Linked DNA regions of Homo sapiens: region 1 is linked to region 2. The links are contacts of gene promoters, found by promoter capture Hi-C in blood cells and fetal thymus (Javierre and others, 2016). All regions are on one chromosome and are shown on one strand. The core of a region is centred on a gene start or on the middle of the fragment in contact, and the rest is flanking DNA. Distances in the headings are between cores, read along the strand shown. Region 1 has its middle 120 kb from the start of CDCA7L. Region 2 holds the start of DNAH11 (dynein axonemal heavy chain 11).

Region 1 (4,408 bases), core at 533-3,032, 520 kb after region 2:
GGGGCCAAGCAGGCCACTCACAGACGTGATGAGGACAGCTAGTAGTTCTCGGCCCCCGCTGAATACTGGAATTATCTGGATAACTTGTAAAGAAACCAATTCTCTGACATCCTCTCCACAGGCTCTGATTTCACTGGTCTAGAGTGAGACTTAGGCACTGGTAATTTTTTTTTAACATTCCTAAATGATTTTTATATTCAAATAGGGTTGTAAAAGGCTCAACTAGAAAAGATGACAACTGCTTGCAGGGGAAAATAGGCAATATCAGATCCAGGAAAATAATGTCAAGTGTATAACTGGAACCATCCAAATCTTTAGATGCTGGAAGTCATTGCAATTTATTAGTAGCATTAGTAATGATACCTTTATAACAGGTAGAATCTACTTTGTTCATCAACATAACCATCCAGGGTGAGGGGGCTTGGACCACTTAAATAAAAATGTAACGTCTATGAAAACACAAAGCTACAAATGGTCCCTAGGAAGACAGTCAGTGCTAGGCCATAGGACCAATTTTACAACACCGGGGAATCTTCATGAAGACTCTTGAATATACGTTCTGTCAGCAATGGCTGCTATAGAGTAGAAGGTGTCACTGTGATGCATATGTAGATAAAAGCAGATTGAAACAATGTTTATTTTAAGCAGGTAGCCAACGTTCAAAAGATCATCCAGCAATTTCTACAAACCCAGCTCTGCTGTAAACTGTAAAATGAGAAGGTACTCTTTTGAAGGAAGTACAGTCCAAAAGCAGAGAATTCCCACCAAAAATAAAAAGGAGAACCCCATCCCGCTTTACTTTCCATCTTCATGGAAAGTTTCATGCTTTTGTGTGTGTGTGTGTCCCTTCCTTCTCTCCTGTTTCCTGACACCCTCTAATTAGTGCTCTCATCGCTGCCTCTGGCACCACGCATGCTGTAGGTGGTTGGCGTGACACTGGATGCCTGCCCCTGCAGTGCTATTAGGCACCCTGTGGCGCACAAACAAAAAGCCCAGAAAGCCTGACCCAACCATTTTCCTATGAATAGAACGTGCTTTCTTTATCAAGATAAAAGGTGCTTGTCTATTTGTATAGAGAGGAGATACACATATACGCATAAATATAGAGAACCTTGTGTATGTGTATTGCATGTGAGTTTCCTAGTCTAAAAAGGTTCTGGGTCAGAAATATTTTGGCATGTCCTTAAATAGATTCAAAGTTCCTGAAAGACGTCCTCCACGTTTGAAAGACTTAGAGAGTGAAACTTTCTTAGAAGGAAGCTGGAATTGAGTGAAATCTCTTGATCTTGAGATTAAAGAAGCTCCTAAGAAATAGATAATCCTGACTTTCTTCCAAGCTTCTTTCATGACATCTTAAGGTGGAGCTTCTTCCTTTGCCTTGGAGAGAGAAATCACAGGATCTCTGTAGTTCCAGTCCCTTTCCACCTCCAGTATGGGATGGAAAGAAGCTGGGTTTTTCTCTCACAGTCAGATATCCAATTAGTATTTATCAAGTGAATACCAAGGGCTGCTTCATTGGCTAAAGAGGACTTTTGCTCTGAAGTTCTTTCTCTGGAGAGTTATATCTCCACACCTCTGTGGGTGTTGAGCTGTTAAAATGACCATGGTGGATGGTAGTGATCAGGACTGAAAATGGGATCACAAGGGAGGATTTGCAAGGTGGCGGGGGGCAGCCTCTTACTGGGGCGGAAAGTCCTAGTACTTACCCAAAAGGGCCAGGGTAGTAGAGAGTATGATGACTATTTAGGACTACATGTTAGACTCATCACAGCCCACTCGACTCTAAAACTGAATGAACACTGGGCTACAGGCCTTGATGATCTCCTATCCTGTCCTAATGTAGGAGGCAGGTTGTCCTCCTTTGCCCTGTATCGTCAGAGACTAGAGCTGATACCTTCTTAAACAGTGGGCAGCGAGAGGTACTCCTTATTTTACTACTGCAGACATTAGGATACACACATCCCAGTTTGCCTGTGACAGTCCCCATTAATTCTTGGTGTCTTGGTGTGCACCTCCTCTCACAAGTGTCCAGGTTTGGAAGGAAAATTTTGTTATCACCCCAATGAGAACTGAGTGCTTAACAAAGACTCGATGCTGTGTCCTTACATCGGACTTGTAATATAGGAATTGAAATTGAGAGCCTGGCTAATCCAAAGCTAGGAAGATTAATTCTGTTATTAATGATAACTGAGGACTATCTACATCTTAAACAAAATGAGTTAGTTGTCAAGCTTTGAGGTGCCTTCCCTTTGCTGCGGCAGTGTTCAATGCTTGGGCTCTCTCATACGGTTGTTTCGGTGTTCCAGGGCAGACAGAAGGTGCACAGGTGAGGGGTAAGCAGGGAGTTCTCTCTCCATGCCACACACACAGAAGAGGCTCCTTGTCCAACTCACACAGAGCACTGTGTGGCTAATGGTGGCCTCAGACATGGTTTGTCACATTGGAAAACGCACATTTTGTTGAAAAGACAAGATGAACATATCACAATTATCGTTAAACCCCACAAGACAATATATGATTAAATCTAATTTTGGAGTGCCTGGAGCAGATCAGGGTAGCCAATAAATAAATGTTGAATAAATAAATGGATGGCTATCATTGACTACTCTAAATGTGTGATGGATTCAGAGAAGGGGAAATGAACAAGGGTTAGCATAGAATGGGTTGTTATCATGGATGAGATGGGAACCTTGAGGGAAGGATAAGTTGAATTGAGTGGATAGGGAGGATTTATGGGGGTGGATAGAGGTGGGAGAGGAACTTTCCATTTTAGAAGAATAACATGAGTGTGGGAGTCAGACAGTGCAATAGTAATCACACCACATACAGTTTTGCCGACAAAAAACCAAAAAACCAAAAAATTTGGTTTTCTAGTGTAAGAGAAAGGAATGATAGAGTCAGTTTTAGAATCTCCTTAGCTATTACTAACCACTGGTCTCTTTGAATACTCTTTGTAAGGCAAAGTGAGTACAAAGTGAGTACAACCCTTAGGGGTCGACATCCCATGAACAACAAAACATTTCACATGTAGCTCGGAATACATTCAATGTATCTGAGTTCTTTGAGGTAAGGGAAGAAAGTTTATACTAACAATTCTGGTTATTGGTTTGCAACTTATAGACCAATGAAATATTTACATTCCATTGATATTTCCAAATAGCCAAGAATGCGATAGGGTTTAATACATAAAACCTTTTAGTATAAAAGCTCTAGAGACAAAGGATCTTTGTCGGCCGGGTGCGGTGGCTCACGCCTGTAATCCCAGCACTTGGGGAGGCCGAGGCGAGTGGATCATGAGGTCAGGAGATCGAGACCTTCCTGGCTAACACAGTGAAATCCCATCTCTACTAAATATGCAAAAAATTAGGTGGGCAAGGTGGCAGGCGCCTGTAGCTCCAGCTACTCGGGAGGCTGAGGCAGGAGAATGGCGTGAACCCAGGAGGCAGAGCTTGGACGCCGTCTATAAAAAAAAAAAAAGGATCTTTGTCTTTTTATTCCTTGACATGGCCCAAGCCTCTAGACCAGTTGCTGGCACATGGTAGCCATGCAATCAGTGTCTGTTGAGTGAATTACTACCCACTGTCCAAGAGACAGTTCTTCTTCATTATCAGAAAAGAACTTTGTGACCATTAGTTTAGCTGTCTGAATAGATAAGAGGAAGATTGTTCTGATTTCCTCATGCTTAACATTTAGCCATGATTATAATGGCTGAAAACCTTTGAAGCTTTTGAACAGATCCCAGTTCTCTATTTCACTGGGGAGAAATTGCCCAGGACCCATGAATTTGGATGTTCTCCCTTTGAGCAACATTCATAGAAGATGTACTCAAAACAACGCAGACCATATGGGTGATGTTAAGAGCCTTTAGAATCTCACAGACTGAAAATCCATTCTTTTACAACCCAAAGGTGCTGAGATCAGACATTCTAAAAACCAAAGCTTGCTAAACCTTTTAAAAGTAAATAGTTTCTATACTGCATTATTGGGGTTGAAAGGGCAAACTGGGTATGGCAGTTTTTTCTATCTATTCTCAAATGCTTTGACATGACAGTCAGGATGAAGGGTAGCATTCATGTCTTAGACCAAAAAATCACATTGGTTCCAACAAGGTGATTCAGACAGTGTAAGGATGGACTTATATGCTAATTCTACTTCCAGTAACAGCTCATGTCACCTTTAGCAAACTGGGTTATTCTCAAAAAGTTAAAGACCATGCCCTGAAATTGGTCTTTGGGATATAGCTTATAATTAAGAATAAACCAACTTGCAAATGACTCTACCTTAGATATAAAAATAATAACAGTTCTAATCACCAAAATCAGCACAGTTACATAGTTACATTAATGAAATGAACAAGGAAAAATATATTTTCATACATAAATTTATAGATCTCTATAGGAAAAGAGAA
Region 2 (4,327 bases), core at 269-2,768:
GATTATTTTGCCCTGTATGACATTAGTGAGTGTTGTTTTGAACCTAGCAAGCTGACTCATCCTGTCTTCCTCCAATGCTGCTAAATTTCTTTCTCGAACTGTCCTTGGAACTTACATCATTTTGTTGCTTTCCTCATTTATGAGTTAAATCAATCTTTGACATATCTTCATCTTATATTTCGAGTTACATAGTTAACTTTTTGGAAATTGCACTTTAAAGTTAGCATCATTTAAAAAATTTTCCTGCTAGATTTGAAAGTGGTTATTCACTTTCAATTTAATTCAACTATTATTTACAGAATTCCCGGTTTTCTAGGTTACAGGGATGTGAAGCTGGAATATAAGAGGGGAGAGAAGGAACTGGTGATTGCCAGCCTTGTATACCAGCAACTGGGAGCCCCAAAGATTATTATGGACAATATAAAGCAGCCTTGACAGGTTAGAAGTCATTATCAAAGTTTTCCAAGGCCCTGTGTTATTTCAAGATTCTGATCACATAACTGGAAACTTGTCGATGGTTTTCAGGGGCAGTTAATATCCTGCAAAGAAAAAAATTGTTGAAGCCTCATCTTCTGGAAATGTCTGTCAACATTCAGGTATTAAATGGATTATTGTGGGCAACAGTCCTTCAGTAGCCCCCATGGAAGGGGTGGGGATTGAAGACTTTAGTTTGAAATAAACAATTAACAAAGGAGACTTAAAAGTTTAGTTGAGGACTCCTCCTCAAAATTCTGGTTGCTTTAATAATTAGAATTTCCATAAGAGTCTCAACGAAAGCCACTAATGGACCGCAGTGAAATCCTATTTCAGTATCATGAAACTGTTTTTAATCTGAAGCTTTTTCTCTTTGACCTTTTTACTCTTGAATTAAATGATAAATCTATAGATTTTCGGAACATTTTGGAGATCACGAAAGGGCACTGTGCGTTCTCTTACTGGGTGTACTGAAGTTCCAGTAAGTTTCAGGTTGAGGATGGCAATCAGGAGGACTTCGAATACTTAGATCTTGGATTCCCACAACTAGGAAAGTTGAATTGCAGGACTGGCTCTCTTCTGGTAATATTTGGACACCTTGGGAAAGGTGAATAACAGCCTTCAACTTGGGCCCCGAAACTTCTCTGTTACTTATTTTTGTAACTTAGTTCCTTGCCCATAAAACAAAGACTGACCAGTCAGAGACTTGGCTTTCTACGGATTATGTCAACTAGTCAAGGTAAGAGATTAGCACGGACCTTGGCACAAGAGAGCATTGCTTCATCCAGAGCACTTAACCAATGCTGGGATCTCCACCAAGTGTCCAGTAGGCGAAGGAGCCGGAGGGCAGTGGAGCGAGCGCACTGGGGGCTCAGACCCACCCCGGACACGCGGCTTCTCGGCCGTGTTCGGGACCTAGAGCCCGAGGGCCTCTCCCCTCGGCCTTGGCCTTGGCGTATACTGGGCGGTGGCGCGGTGCGCTCACTCCGCCCCCAGCGGGCTGGGGCGGGGACACCGTCCCCCGGGAAACGGGACGCGCTGCTTGTCCCAGGCCTTCGCTTCGGCCTGCGAGGCTACAGCTGTGCGCAGTGGCGCGGCTGCTAAGTAGCAGCAGGTGGGAGACTAGGGTCTGCGCTCGCGGCGACCGCGGAGGAGGGTGGGCGCCTGCGGAGGTGTCCTCGCTCACTTCGGGGGGCCCAGAGTCTCGGGTGAGGAGCCAGCCGGCCTCGCGTTCCCTCGGACGGTTGCCCAATGGCAGCCCAGGTGGCAGCCCGGGAGGCGCGAGACTTCAGAGAAGCCCCGACCCTTCGCCTAACCTCGGGGGCCGGCCTGGAGGCAGTGGGCGCTGTGGAGCTCGAGGAGGAGGAGGAGAACGAGGAGGAGGCGGCGGCCAGGAGAGCGCGGAGTTTCGCCCAAGACGCGCGGGTGCGCTTCCTCGGCGGCCGCCTGGCGATGATGCTGGGGTTCACGGAGGAGAAATGGAGCCAGTATTTGGAAAGCGAGGACAACCGGCAGGTTCTTGGGGAGTTTCTGGAAAGCACCAGCCCGGCTTGCCTTGTGTTTAGCTTCGCCGCCTCGGGGCGCCTTGCGGCTTCCCAGGAGGTAAGAGGCGACGGGCAAGGGGACCTGCCCATCCAACAAAACTACCCAGGGGAGACAGCCCAGTCGCTCCCCTTTGGATTCCCGCGGGGCGCTCACTCGGGCACTTTAACAAACTTGGCTTGAAGTCCCCATCCTGAGGCCCGCAGGACTCCTCCCCACGTGCACCCACTCTGCAGTTCAGCAGCTGCAGGTTAGTTTCCTAAGTCAGCAGTTTGTATCTGACCGAGAATCCCGCGTTGAGCCTGTTCGACCAGGATAACCCAAGAACACCAGCGCTTTCTTTAGCTGCTTGGGTGTTAGGCGCCAGGTGGGCTTTCTGTGCCAAAAAACTTGCGTTTCAGTTGCTCTTGGGTCACTCTGGAGTCACATCCTTTAAAAAATGGGGTGTTTGGCAGAGCGCATGTAACTCGTCACGTATTTTGATTACGTGCCAACAACACTTCACCCCAGGCAAAAACATTAAGTCCTTAAAAAGGAAGGCCCCTGCAATCTCCGCACACATGGGTGTTTACTGAACATTTAGAGGGAACAGTTCCCTCCTTTCTTCTTTTTCTTCCTTTTCTTTTTGAATTTCGATGATTTGTCCACTAAAAGGTTAACGTATCACCTAACGTACAGCACTTGTATTTAGTATTTTTCAAGTATGATGAGTTTGGAGCAAGATTCACAATTTTTAAGTAGCGCAATGCTCAGTTTAACATGTTATGTCGTTTTATCACTAGGTGTGGTCATTGTAATAGTTGGGAAATAGGATCTCAGAGAAGAAAGAGTAATAGGAAGGCTGCCTTATGGTATTGTGAATTTTGAATTCTTTTGTTTTAGGACTCTCCTAATTGTAACTTTAAAAAAAATAAGTTTGTCAGTAGACAAGGCGATAGAACACAACTCTAGTATTACCTAAGTTAAATAGTTATTATAATGTTCAATGGAATGACTCAGTAGTTGTGGAAATGTTAGCATGTTTTGGTTATACGGTTCTATTCTTTGATAGAAATACAAATTAACCTCTTGGGCTTGTCTTTATCTCAGTTTGGCTTATTTCCAAACCAGAGAAGAGTATAAAAAATAACCCTTTAGGATTGAAACATTTCTACATGCCTACGTGCTCCTTATTTGTTTTTAGTTATAAGATTTTTTTTTTGGTGTATAATGAACTGGTATAATTGGCATGCCTTTAAAAGGTGATATTTCCACACCAGTAATGCTGTGAAATTAGCATTATAAAAGAACAAAGAAAACTGTATACTCGCTGCATACTAGGGAAGAGCCGTAGAAGGACCTTGTTTATAGGGCAGGCAAGATGCCAGGTTTTGTTTCTTCTGCTAGCAATACAGCTACAAGTTGGATATAGTAAATCCTGCTTGTTAACAAGAAAACTACTTGAACTAATTATCTTGCTCTTGTTTTAGATTCCAAGAGATGCAAACCATAAACTTGTTTTTATTTCCAAGAAGATTACTGAAAGCATTGGAGTAAATGACTTTTCTCAAGTGGTTTTATTTGGAGAGTTACCTGCGTTGTCTCTTGGACATGTATCTGCTTTCCTTGATGAGGTACTGGTCTGTCTTTAATATTTAAAGCTTTCACTTATCTCCATGACATTTGAAATTATTTAGGACAACTCCGATAATTAAAAAAAGAAGAGCTAGGAGGGGAAGGGAAGGGGATGGGGGTGGTTAAAAAAAAAAAAAAAAAAAAAAGCTTGTAGAAGCCAGGAGTCTCTAGCCAGGTGGATGGAGTCATAACATCTAGACTGTTCCTGAAAGGAGCTCATGCTTACTGATGCTAATATTCAACAGGTGGCAATTGCAGGGATCATTCTCTCCCTTTCTTCCTTCCAACACAATAGAAGCAAATAAAAAGCAACTTGAATAGGTTCTTGCACCTTAGCAGCAGGTTTTAAGCTTCACATTCAGAGTAGAGACAAATTTACACTTTGAAAATGAGTATTATCAGTTCCTTTTTATACTTGTTAGAAACTAACAGTTAAAGACTAAGATTCACTCATGGCAGATAATGGGAAAAGGTGATGAAAGTGTTAGAAATGGTTCTTAAACTTTCTTTTTCTCCTCTTAAAATAGAGAAATAGTCTTCAACCAATGTTACTGACACTTTAATGTGCATAAGAACTGCCTGGGGATTTTGTGAAAGAGGTTGGTTCATTCAGTCTAGAGTGGAGCCCGAGGTTCTGCATTTCTAACCTGTTGCTGATGCTCTTTGTTTGTGGACTAGCTTTGAAGAACAACTGCCA

What was found. Contacts are between HindIII fragments. The CHiCAGO score rates a contact against its expected background, and 5 or more counts as called.
Region 1: a fragment that was not itself captured here is called in contact with the fragment with the promoter of DNAH11 in region 2 in 1 of 17 cell types (naive B cells); the score reaches 5.2 in naive B cells.

The regions. Positions count from the first base shown.
Region 1 is chr7:22,065,744-22,070,151 of GRCh38, forward strand. No RefSeq gene overlaps it. Among named protein-coding and RNA genes, the nearest start is that of CDCA7L, 120 kb to the left of the region's middle. The HindIII fragment of the contact is 894 bases long and covers 1,336-2,229 here.
Region 2 is chr7:21,541,521-21,545,847 of GRCh38, forward strand. DNAH11 (dynein axonemal heavy chain 11) reads left to right here and starts at 1,519. Exons shown (of 82, transcript NM_001277115.2): 1 at 1,519-2,076; 2 at 3,486-3,629. The coding sequence starts at 1,726. RefSeq lists enhancers at 841-1,342, 3,675-4,327 and a silencer at 1,391-1,440. The HindIII fragment of the contact is 2,819 bases long and covers 836-3,654 here.